Regions from separate parts of the Homo sapiens genome. Here all the other regions are linked to region 3. Evidence: promoter capture Hi-C in 16 types of primary human blood cells and fetal thymus (Javierre and others, 2016). All regions are on one chromosome and are shown on one strand. Each heading gives the region's core, a stretch centred on a gene start or on the middle of the fragment in contact. The rest is flanking DNA. Distances are from core to core; before and after follow the strand shown. Region 1 overlaps SLC22A23 (solute carrier family 22 member 23). Region 2 overlaps SLC22A23 (solute carrier family 22 member 23). Region 3 holds the start of PXDC1 (PX domain containing 1).

What was found. The method cuts DNA at HindIII sites, captures the fragments that hold promoters and counts their contacts. A CHiCAGO score of 5 or more calls a contact.
Region 1: a fragment that was not itself captured here is called in contact with the fragment with the promoter of PXDC1 in region 3 in 5 of 17 cell types (naive CD8 T cells, erythroblasts, naive B cells and 2 more); the score reaches 7.0 in naive CD8 T cells.
Region 2: a fragment that was not itself captured here is called in contact with the fragment with the promoter of PXDC1 in region 3 in 9 of 17 cell types (naive CD4 T cells, total CD4 T cells, total CD8 T cells and 6 more); the score reaches 7.1 in naive CD4 T cells.

Annotation. Positions count from the first base shown.
Region 1 is chr6:3,268,808-3,272,551 of GRCh38, reverse strand. SLC22A23 (solute carrier family 22 member 23) reads left to right here. Exons shown (of 10, transcript NM_015482.2): 10 at 1-3,579. Among named protein-coding and RNA genes, the nearest start is that of PSMG4, 12 kb to the right of the region's middle. The HindIII fragment of the contact is 2,795 bases long and covers 180-2,974 here.
Region 2 is chr6:3,287,390-3,290,952 of GRCh38, reverse strand. It overlaps SLC22A23 (solute carrier family 22 member 23), which reads left to right. Exons shown (of 10, transcript NM_015482.2): 6 at 1,087-1,189. Among named protein-coding and RNA genes, the nearest start is that of PSMG4, 30 kb to the right of the region's middle. RefSeq lists an enhancer at 3,497-3,563. The HindIII fragment of the contact is 1,943 bases long and covers 975-2,917 here.
Region 3 is chr6:3,750,094-3,753,626 of GRCh38, reverse strand. It overlaps PXDC1 (PX domain containing 1), which reads left to right and starts at 1,914. Exons shown (of 5, transcript NM_183373.4): 1 at 1,914-2,351. The coding sequence starts at 2,096. RefSeq lists silencers at 1,401-1,570, 1,621-1,860, 2,611-2,690. The HindIII fragment of the contact is 5,359 bases long and covers 1-3,353 here.

The sequences.
Region 1 (3,744 bases), core at 328-2,827, 480 kb after region 3:
GGCTTTTGCTAGAGTCTGTGTATGGTTTTTTAAGGTCCTTTTTCCCTTTCTGTTTGTAAGGTAAGAGCTTCTGTTCGTGTGCAGGGAAAGCAGCTCACAGACGCCGTTAAAACCAGCTTCATCTTTCCTTCAGGATCATCCTTTTGTACTTGATGCTGGAAGCTCTTGGAGAAAAAGCTTAAACATTTCACCAGAAATCTTAATTGAGCAGCAGTCATATCGCCACAGCTTTGTGAGTACACAGCTAACAGATGCGTCGAGACCTGAGATGTGCTCGTTTTTATTCCTCCTCTCCCAGATTGGCTCCAGCAGAAAAGTCCCTCGTGCACAGGCAGCTCTTGTGCCGGCACTACTTGAAAACATGGCTACTTTCTAAGCTACAAACCATTAGAAAATAACTCAAAAAGATGGCAGAGGCAAATCCACAGAAGGGGGGCTGCCCTCCACACACACACGCCCGTCACCCACACCTTGAGCACACACCATGAAGATCACCAGCTTGGATGGCCGTCACCTCAGACATCACTCCAGGGAGCACCCGCAGGAGCTGGGCCCCCTCACGCCTGCCTTCCTGGGCCAGCTTCCTGCTTGCAGTCACTCGCATAGCACAGAGGTGGGGCTTCGGGCAGGGAGCGGAGATTCCTCATAGGTGAGTCCAAATGACCTCCAGCCTCTCGAAGGCATCAAGACAAATTGAAAGAAAGCAATAACTCACCAAAGCTCAACGCTGCCCCTGCCTCGACCTCCATGGGTCTCTTCGTGTTCCTCGTTTCACCCCAGAAAGTGGAGGTTTCCTCTTGGCATTTTCGGAGGAAACTTGTAGGACACCCAAGGCGACTAAGAGACAGCCTCCTTGGCAAGGGCAGGCACCACTTTGTAGCAACTTGGGCACCAGCTTTTCTGGACAGCCTGGCTTCTTACTGGCATTGTCCAACTCATCCCTTCTCGAAGCATGTCTTTGCCATGGGCTGTGTCCTTCCAGGGAAATTGTGGTCTCGGGCCTGGGTGAGACAATGAAGTGACTTCCAACCGACAGTTGCTAGAATTCACAGGGCAGAAAAGGGGTTGACCTTCTCCCCTTCTGGCTTTCCACCCGGCCTGCTGCTTGCTGTCGCCACTCATGTCTCCTCCACATGCGGTCCACACATCAGTAAGGGCCTGGAGATGTGTAAAGACACAGCAAGGGGCAAGCAGACTCTTGGCCACGTGTTTCCAGTGGCTGGACCACGCCGACACCTGGGATCTTGAGATACCCAGGAAGGGAGGCTGTCTGGCCAGCCTCTCCCTGCCTCCACTTGCTCCACGTCCAGCTCCTCACCTTCCCTCTTTTTTAAAGTCACATTTCCATGTTTCAACATTAGTTTGCATTCACCTTTACAAAGGCCTTTCTTTAGATCTGTGCAGCCTTTGCGTGCCAAACTTGTGAAATTCCTTTTACCTTTTTTGGAGTACTTGCTATAAAGCCACCTGTCAACAAACCCCCATTATGTACAGAATAGGACCTATCCAGTAGCCAGGCCAGTAGGCAGTTGGGGAAGGTGGGAAGGATCCAGCGAGGCCCCTGAGCCTGCACCTGGACAGGTGTACGTCTGCACCCATCACCCTCAGCACCAGGCCACCCTGCAGTCCACTTACTGTACTGTGTTGTGGAAGGATATGCTAAGTGATGAAAGTTGCGAGCAGTCTCACTGGTCGTGTAAACTTTTTTTTTTTTTTGGAAATTGAAGCTGTAGAGTGCTGCCCGAAATCTCTAGGAAGTTGGTGGCAAGGGACAGCACTCACACTCTTCTGGTCATGATCTCTGATCTCCACCTCAAATGACAATAAAAAACTGGTCCAACGAAGACACTGCTCAGCACTTCAGCCATCAGGACTAATCCATCGATGACTGGAAAAGAGGCTAGCTTTGAGGAAAACAGCCTGGGCTCTTGGGAGCAGAGTCCAGTGGGTGTGAGGCTGACTTGCCGACGGTCGGCAGGTAATGGCTCTCAGCCGGCGAGGCGGTCCCACAGCTCTCCTCCCAGGGCAGCCTGAGGAGGAGGAGGCCGGGTGCCTGTTTGGTGGCAGCTTCAGCCTAGGGATACCTGAAGCTGTTGAGCAACACCTTTATGAAATGTTGCCAGAGCAGCAACACTTCCCTGTGGGCACAGCCCCGGGAAATCCGGTACCAAGTGAGCAAGGTGGCAGGACCCACCCAAGCCTGATACGCATCTGGGCCCGCCGGGCTCAGCAGGGGAGGCTGCTACGGCTGCCCACTTCCCAGCACCGTCTGTCACGCTTGAACCCCTCTGTGCTGTTCCCTTCCTGGCTAATAGGGAGACCCTTCGCAGGCACCCACTGTTTCAACTTGACCCTCCCACCCCCTGCTACTCTCCTCCACACACCCCTCCGTTCCGCTAGCCTACCCTGTCAGCCTTTCAATAAAAGTTATGCACAAATGTGAACACCTGAGATGGAGCTGAACATTTCTTCACTTTGTTCTTTTTCTGAAGTCAAACTCTTATCAAATGCCCTAAAATTATTACCACCCAAGAGAAACAGGAAAAAGGTTACATGTTTTTGTTTACTGAGAGTAAGATCACCTGCATCTGGAAGACGGGCTGGTAAATTGGTTTGGCTACAGAACAGAAAGAAAACAAAAACAAACCTCGTAAGGGAAGTATCACACTCAGACACCACCGCTTCCTAGAGCCAAATGAGCAATCCCAAACTGCAAGTGCCATAAGTGGGCCTGTGAGGTCACACCGCCCGGCCCGAGGTATCGCATGTGCGGGGGAGGTCCACACTACAGCTGTCCTCTCGTCTAGAAGGCACCACCTCGCTTTCATGTCCCGTGTGTTTTGGAAAAGCAGTATGGTGTGTCATGTCTAGCGGCGAACACTTCCCTCCCTGTCCTTGAGGTTGTAATATAAAAACTGTGTTTCTGTACGTGTGGGTGGGAATTCTCTGACGGTGCTCGTTCATAGCACAAGCTTACGCTGAGTTCTGAACTGTCGTTCACAGCTGCGTGTCTGCATGGTGTCGCATCTGTTGTACCTTTGGGGAAAATTTGTATGTAAATGTACAGAAATAAAAACGTTGCCCCATTAACAGATTTCCTCTGGAATGTCTTCCCTACCTCACCTGATGGTATCCACCGAAGGGCATTTCACTACCATTAATGGTGAGTAATAAAATCCTCCGTGTTCATTCAGACCTCACTGCGTCACTACTTTGAACGCCTCTGTAAGCTGTGTCTTCACTCGCCCCGAGGTGGGTGGAGGGAGGCCTCTCACTCTGCTTCGAGTCCTGGTCTTAAAGGTAGTCAGAGGCAGAGGCTGGATTAAACACACACTGTTTACCAAGTGCCACTCTCAGACCACCTGAGAGACGGGGGCCATCAGTAAAATTAAGAGGAATTTTTTTCCCTTGTTCGTGTATGTTCTGCTGATCCGTGGCCTGAAGGTTCCTAGAGACGTCAAGAAATGAATATCTTACACTGTGATTCTGTGAGGAAAGACTGGTAACCCAAAACTCTCTTCTCTAATGTATTTTTTAACGAAAATGACAATATTTCTTTAATAAAGTATTTATACCAAACTCTTCTCTCCATAGCCCTGATTTTGTGTCACTCGCTATTATATTTCTAGAGAGGTGTCCACTCAGCTTTGCAAGCTGCGACGAGGCTGGCCGGGGCCTCGAGGTTAGCACGGGAAGTCTGCAAAGGAGGGAAGCACCCGGAACTACAGACTCACTCCTCCGACG
Region 2 (3,563 bases), core at 697-3,196, 460 kb after region 3:
GTCTGACAGCTGCTCAGTCTTTCTTGTTTCTGGTGACCTTGACAGTCTTGAAGAGTCCTGGTTCCCCTCCGCTTCGGGAAGTCTCCCTTTTCTTTTTTAGCTCCCCAGTAGGGGATTACTCCATGAAGACATGCCAGGCTAGGAAGGCAGAGAGGCAACAGAAGGCTGAGGTGGCATTCCTGCTCCCAGACGTGCAAGCAGACAGCTCCTGGAGGCCAGCACCCCCACCATTCTGAATCTTCCCTGTAAATTGCCAGATCAACACCAGCACCTCTGCAGACCCCTTGGCCTGGTGAATGTAACACTGTGCGCTGGTGGACTCCCTTCAGAGGGGCTTTCAGAGCCGCTGGAGCCGCACAAGAAACTCAGTCTCATGACTTTATAGTTGCTCACATCCCTTGGAGCCAAAATATTGTCCAGCCCCCAAGGACTTCTGTTAACTAAAACATGCACACGTATATGCATGCGTATGAATGTGTGCATGTATGGTGTATACACATACACGCAGATGTGTTCACTTATGTATTTGGCTTTCAAAGATGCATATGATGTCCTAAGGGCAGTTTCAGCAGAAGTAGCTACAGCCATAGTTCCACCCCACAAGGCTAAGAAGCATATCTGCATGTGGCCTTCCCAGTCTCCGAGCCGGGGGTGACACAGGCAGATGTAGAGTGTACGGAAAAGAACTGCATGTTTAGATTTGCCCAGGGCCTAATGAGTGCCTCAGTAACCTAGAATATCATCGCTGAGCTCTGTACTCAGACAAAAGTGAACTGAGTCGAGACCGTTTGTGTGCACTCTGACTGGTTCCAAAACAAGGGTTTGTGATGGAAACTTCTGCTGACGGTGCACCTTGGTGCCCTCTCAGGCACCCGAGCGAAACCTGAACTGCAAAGCTGGGGTCTTATGAGTGCCTTTCTATCCTGGAAACCTAGACCCTATCCACTGGCAAAAAAAAAAAAAAAAAAAAAGCTTCTCTCTCCCTTCTGTGGTACCCGAACTGGGGAACCAGGGCTGTGACTGCAGCTGCTGTCCTGTCCTCTGTGGGCGGCCTGCCCAGGGCTCACAGGGTCTGTTTCTTTGCAGAGCTGGAGAAAGAGCTTTCCCGGAGGCCCAAGAAGGTCTGCATCGTGAAGGTGGTGGGGACACGGAACCTGTGGAAGAACATTGTGGTCCTGTGTGTGAACTCGTGAGTCACAGAGGACAAGTGCCAGCTGGGTGGGAGGGGGCCAGGGAAGAAGGTGGGGAGTGGTGAAGCCCAGGGCCCTGCTCCCCACCCCGCTGAACTTGGAATCCTAAGGGTGTGTGTGTGAAGAGTGACACGGGCTAGAAGATATTGACCTCCCCCGCTCCCGGAAGCCTCAAGCAGCCGGTGCCCCCCAGCCCAGGCGTGTAAATCCTGTGAGCAGGGCCTCCCCACCACGTGCCCATGAGGTCCAGGAAACCAAGATGCACATGGACGCACCTCCTCAGGGGCACAGTGGGGGATGCCACAAGGCTGGAAATTCTGGGCCCTGTCTCAGGACAGGGGATTTGAGACCCATGAGGCCTTGGCCCCTGCCTGTAGCCGGCCCCGCCCTTCCTGAACCTGCAGCCAGCCTGGCCAAAGGCCCCAGGACAGCCGTGGGTGGAGGCAGGTGGGCCTGAGCCAGGCCAGTGAGCGCAGACCTCCTCCCAGGGCCCTCACCGGCCCAGGTCGCCCCGCCTGCTGGGTCCTGCAGGGGCTGGGGGCATCACTCACGCAGGTTCTTTGCAGCCCAGTCCCTGGACTTGGTGTGTACCTAGAAGGTCACTCCTGTCTTGAGCTCAGTGGCCCTGACTGTGCAAGGTGGTCCCTTGTTCAGGGTCAGAGGTCACCAAGGTGGCGGAGGGAAGGGATTTGACTCATTTGGGTTAGAGGTCACCTGGGGTGTTGCACTCATTTGTGAAAGGTCTCGAGCTGCCACCAGGTAAAGACAGGCCCAGGGTGAGGGCGAGGGGCCAAGCATCCCCCATGGCTTTTTCTGTCAAAGCAGCTCATCAGTTCTCCATATTGGGGTTCTGGGTTGAAATTGATTTGTGAGGAGTACAAGAGGCTCTACTGCCCAAACAACAGTAGAGCCTCATCCTGAGCTCAGGAGAGAGACCAAGGCCAGGGACCGGCCACGGCCACATCAGGCCAAGCCCAGGGCCTCAGCCTTGGCCACTCTGCTGCTGCCTGGTTCAGGTAGATGCTGGGTGAGCTGGCGGCACTGTTAGGAGTTGAACGGCTTCTCTACATTTTATGTTGGAAAAAAACATGAAATTTGACATAAGATGGTGAGTTTCCATTTTAATGATTCGTTTTGTGGAGACGGGGAACCGAGCTCTCTGGCTCTGTTATCTTCAGATGACCTGTTGTGGTCAGGGGAGACTTCATTTCTACCAGAGCAAGAAGGTAGGAGATTGCCCTGCTATCTCAGCAGGCCAGAAGAGGAACTCTGGAGGCTAACTGAACCAAATCAGTTGCTGGATTATAAAGCCATTGTGCGGGGGCTGGGGCCTCTGCCTATTTCCCAAGAGGAAAGGCATTCACCTGGCAAGGGGTGGCTTCCCCCTATGGGGCAGGGACGGGGTCTGTTACAGTTGACCTTGATGCATTCTCAAGGTTAGATGAGAAGGACGTAGATTTCCCTGAAGCACGAAAGGGTGTTTGGGGAGAGAAGGGGGCAGTTTTTGGCTCTGGGATGGTTGCCAAGAGCAGACATAAGAAGGGTCCCTCGAGGCACCACGGGTGCATCACAGGTACACCCCAAAGGTTCCTGAGAGCCCTGAGGCACCCCATGGATGGCCATCAGCAGCCTCCGTGGGAGGGTGCAGCCACGCCTTTGTTCCTGTTTTCAGGGCAGACACGTTTTTCCAGCAGGTTGATACGCTCGTGTGGGGCAATAAAGAAGCTTGACCCAGGGCAGTGGAGGGGAAACAGGGATAAATTAAGAATCAAAACGGAGGCCGGGTGCGGTGGCTCACACCTGTAATCCCAACACTTTGGGAAGCCAAGGCAGGCGGATCACTTGAGATCAGGAGTTCGAGGCCAGCCTGTCCAACATGGTGAAACCCTGTCTCTACCAAAAAATACAAAAATTAGCTGGGCATGGTGGCAGGTGCCTGTAATCCCAGCTACTTGGGAGGCTGAAGCAGGAGAATCACTTGAACCAGGGAGGGGGAGGTTGCAGTGAGCTGAGATCTTGCCACTGCACTCCAGCTTGGGTAGCAGAACACGGCTCTACTCAAAAACAAAACAAAACAAAAAAAAAAACAGTTTCCTGTGGACCCTATATGTCTTCCATTGGCCTGGCTTCTGCCCGACTCCTCCAGGCTGTGTGGGTGGAGTTGAGGCTGGTATGGATAGATCTCCACCCTTCCAGAACCCTAAGTGCCCAGAAAAGCTGCGTCTCTGAGTTGCCGCTTACCCGCCGAGAGCCTCGTGCGAGCTGCTCTGCCCCCCTGCCCCTGTGAAGTGGGTGTGCAGTGGCTGTTGGATTGCGGCCCTGGGTTAAATGAGTCAGTACCTGGAAAGCGCTTTGTCTTGGAGGATTCCCATG
Region 3 (3,533 bases), core at 665-3,164:
CCTCAGGCTCACTGCTCAATGTACACGGAAGCAATACCATGGTACTGCCTTTGAGAAAAGAAAGACTTTATTGCAAGACCAGCCAGCAAGGAGACAGGAGGCAGGTTCAAATCTTCCTCCCTGATTTGGGGTCTGGGGCAAGTTCTAAGGAAGCAGAGGGCAAAGGAAAGGACTTAGAAATGTTGGCTGGGCAGGATCTGTTTGAAGGCCTTCAAATTTGGCCATTTATGGTACGGTATGTTGAGGTGGATTTTAGCCCCTATCTTCTGGGCCAAGAGACCCTTCCCTTCTGAGAGTTCGAATGTTCGGGTTCCAGTCATGTCCCAGTCTTCTTCGTTCCAAGGAGACGAATAGTTGGTTCTGGATGTTTGTTAGAGATCAAATCTTTTTCTATGGTGCATGCCTGGGCTTTGTGACTTAAGAGTTTTTGGCTCTGTTATACCTGCAAGGTAACTCAACATTGTTACAAACAGAGTAAGCCCCGTTTGGGCTGGTACTGTGGTTACAACGGCACTTATTCCCACCACCTAGAGTCAAGAGCTGCTGGCACACTGGCTGTTTACTTCCAGTTCCCACGGCCCCTATTCCCCTATACAAAATTACACAGGAAACATATGCGTTCATTTAATTAGCAAGTGTATATAAAAACATCATAGACAAAGCAAAAGTCTCTCTTGACACTCTCCATCTTGACCTGTTCACCGCCCCAGACCAGGTGAGGAAATTTGAAGCTATGCTATCTGCAAGTCACTGGCGCAGTCGGAATAAAAGTTGGTCGTGGTGGGGGCGGGGGGGGGGTGGTCATCTGGGTCGGGACTGAGTCGAGGCAGGTGGGACTGAGTGGTAGGGACCTGGGGGGACATCTGGGTCGGGTCTGAGTCCAGACAGGCCACCTGCCTTGGGCCTCTAACATTTCCGCGCAGCGCTGGGCTTTGAGGCTTTCCAGAGCGCTGCCGGGGCGGGGGCGGGGTGAGGTGAGGGGCTCACCCTGGCTCTCCCACCCCTGCCTACGGGCTGTGAGGTCACTCGATTCATTTCTGGAACTAACTTGTAATTCTCAAACAAGTGCTATTAATTCTCTTCCAACTAGGAACGGCCTCAGTAACGCGCCGCTGAGTCAGTTTTCAGGGCGGGCGGTTTCCCCAAGTCCACTCCTGAGGCCCCTCAAGAGCACCCACCGCGTCCAGCTTCCCAGGGCGCTCCTTCCCAGGAGACCTTCTTTTCGCCACTGTTTTCTCCCCTCTTCCCACTTCTCCGAGGGCTGCCCCGCGGTCTGTCCGGCCGTGTCCCAGGCCTTGGCGCGGCTGAGGCATGACCGGAATGCGCGGGAGGACGCGGGGCACGGAGGGGACCTGAGGCACGGAGGGAACCCGGGGCGGGCCGGACTGGCCTGGGCCCTCGTCGGGGCGGTGCTCGACCCGGCCCGCGCCCCCCGCCCCGACACTCGCAGCCCCGCCTCCGGACCCCGGGTAGTTGCCATCCCCTCGCGGGCCGGGTGGGGCGCGCAGCTCCTAGCCCTGGGAGGTCCCGAGGATCGCGAAACGGAAAGAGAAAAAAGTCTGCGCCGAGCGCCTGGCAAGCAGGGCCCGCCCCGCCTCCCTTCCCGGCTGGTCCAGTCACCGACCTGCGGCTCCGGGGCCGCGAGGGAGGAGGCGCGGGGGGCGCGAGGCGGGGGCGAGCGCTTGGGACTCGGCCCGGCTCCCGGCTCCGGGGGTTCTCGTGGCCGCGGCAGCGCGGTCTCTGCGGAGGCGGCGGGGGCGCGGCCAGCCGGACCTCTTCCTTTCCAGAGCGGCCCGCGGCGCCCGTTCCGCGGGAGGCGGGCGGGAGGCGGACGCGGCCTAACCTCGACGTCGACTACCGCGCCGCCCGCGATGGGAAGCGCCTTATAAAGCCGCGCCCGGCCGGCCCGAGCCACTCGCCGCCGCGCCGCCCCGCTGCCCCGAACGCGGGCCATACGCAGCCTCCTTGGAGTGACGGGCCGACCCCGGACGACCCCGGCCACGGACAGACCCGGGACGACCCCGGCCGGGGCGCGCCTCCTGCGGGCGGGCGGGCGGCGGGGCTGGGGAGCCCTTGGCGGGGGCATGCGTGCGACATGGCCTCGGCGGTGTTTGAGGGCACGTCGCTCGTGAACATGTTCGTGCGCGGCTGCTGGGTGAACGGCATCCGCAGGCTCATCGTCAGCCGGCGCGGCGACGAAGAGGAGTTCTTCGAGATCCGCACGGAGTGGTCGGACCGCAGCGTGCTCTACCTGCACCGCAGCCTGGCGGACCTGGGCCGCCTGTGGCAGCGCCTGCGCGACGCCTTTCCCGAGGACCGGTCCGAACTGGCGCAGGGGCCGCTGCGGCAAGGTGCGGGGCCGGGGACGCGGGAGGGGCGCGGGGCCGAGGCAGCCTTGAAGTGCACGAAGGAGGCGGGGAAGAGACTTCAACCGAGATTGCGACTTCTCCTTTCTGCCCGCCCTGGACAGGGGACACTTGGACCCCGCGCCCGCAGACGAGGGGTGCCCGGGCGGCGGGGTTAGGGGGACGGGGAGCCAGCCTGCCCAGCCTGGGGGCGCCCCCGGCGGAGGAGCCAAATGGGGCGGGAAAGGGGCCGAGGCCGGCAGGGCGGGCGCCGGACTCTCCCTGAGGACGAGTCACTTCCGAGGAGGGCGGGGGCGCCCGGGGCTGAGCGGCTCACAGGGTCGGCCCGGCCCTAGCCCCCTGCCCGGTACCTCCCGAGGGCCGGCGGGCGGGCGCACTGGGAAAGCGTCTGGGAGCAGTTAACTGCAGGGTCCGAGCCGGGGGTCGCGTCGGGTCTGGCCGCCGCCCCGAGTTCTCCCCGCGGAGGGCGCGCCCCTGGTCTTCGAGCGCGAGGTGCCACGCAGCCCTTCCGTCCCTCCTCGGAGCGGCCGCCCCGCCCGCGGCTGCCGCGGACAGCCAGGGCCCCCCCGCACCCCCGCCAGGGCTGGTCCCCATTCGCGTTTGATCAGCTGCGCCGCCTCCTCCCCGGCCTCGTGACCGTCCTGGCTCGCGGGAATTCTTGTTTTCAGAAACCGCGGTGGCTTCCCTTTTCCTACCGCTCTGCCCGATCTTTCTTTTGGAGGCCAGGCTGAGGGGGTGGAAGCCGGGAGGACGCAAGAGAGAGGGACTGGAATTGAGACGGGAAGAATTGCGGGGTGGAGGGGGCAGGCCGAGGAGAGGGGCCGCCTGGGAGGGCCGGGAGGGGAGAAGGGGCGGGAAGACTGGAGGACTTCCGAGCAGGTCCCACCCCCCTCCATGGGTGACCACCTGTAGCTCGGAACATTGGGACAGTGGCCCAGCAGCCTTCTTTTCTGCAGTCCTCCTCTAAGCAGAGACCTCCTGAAAGCTTGGGGCCAAGTTACTGAAGCAGAAGGTGGCCCGTCCAAGTCTCCCCAGCCTCCTATCTGGCTGCGTTCTTGAGATAACCTGTGCTTTCCCCTGGCGATGGCCCCAACCCCAGTGTGAGAATTACGTGGATAATTAGCTTAGTTCTCATGACACATCTTTTGGAAGGGCTCCCACAGCCAG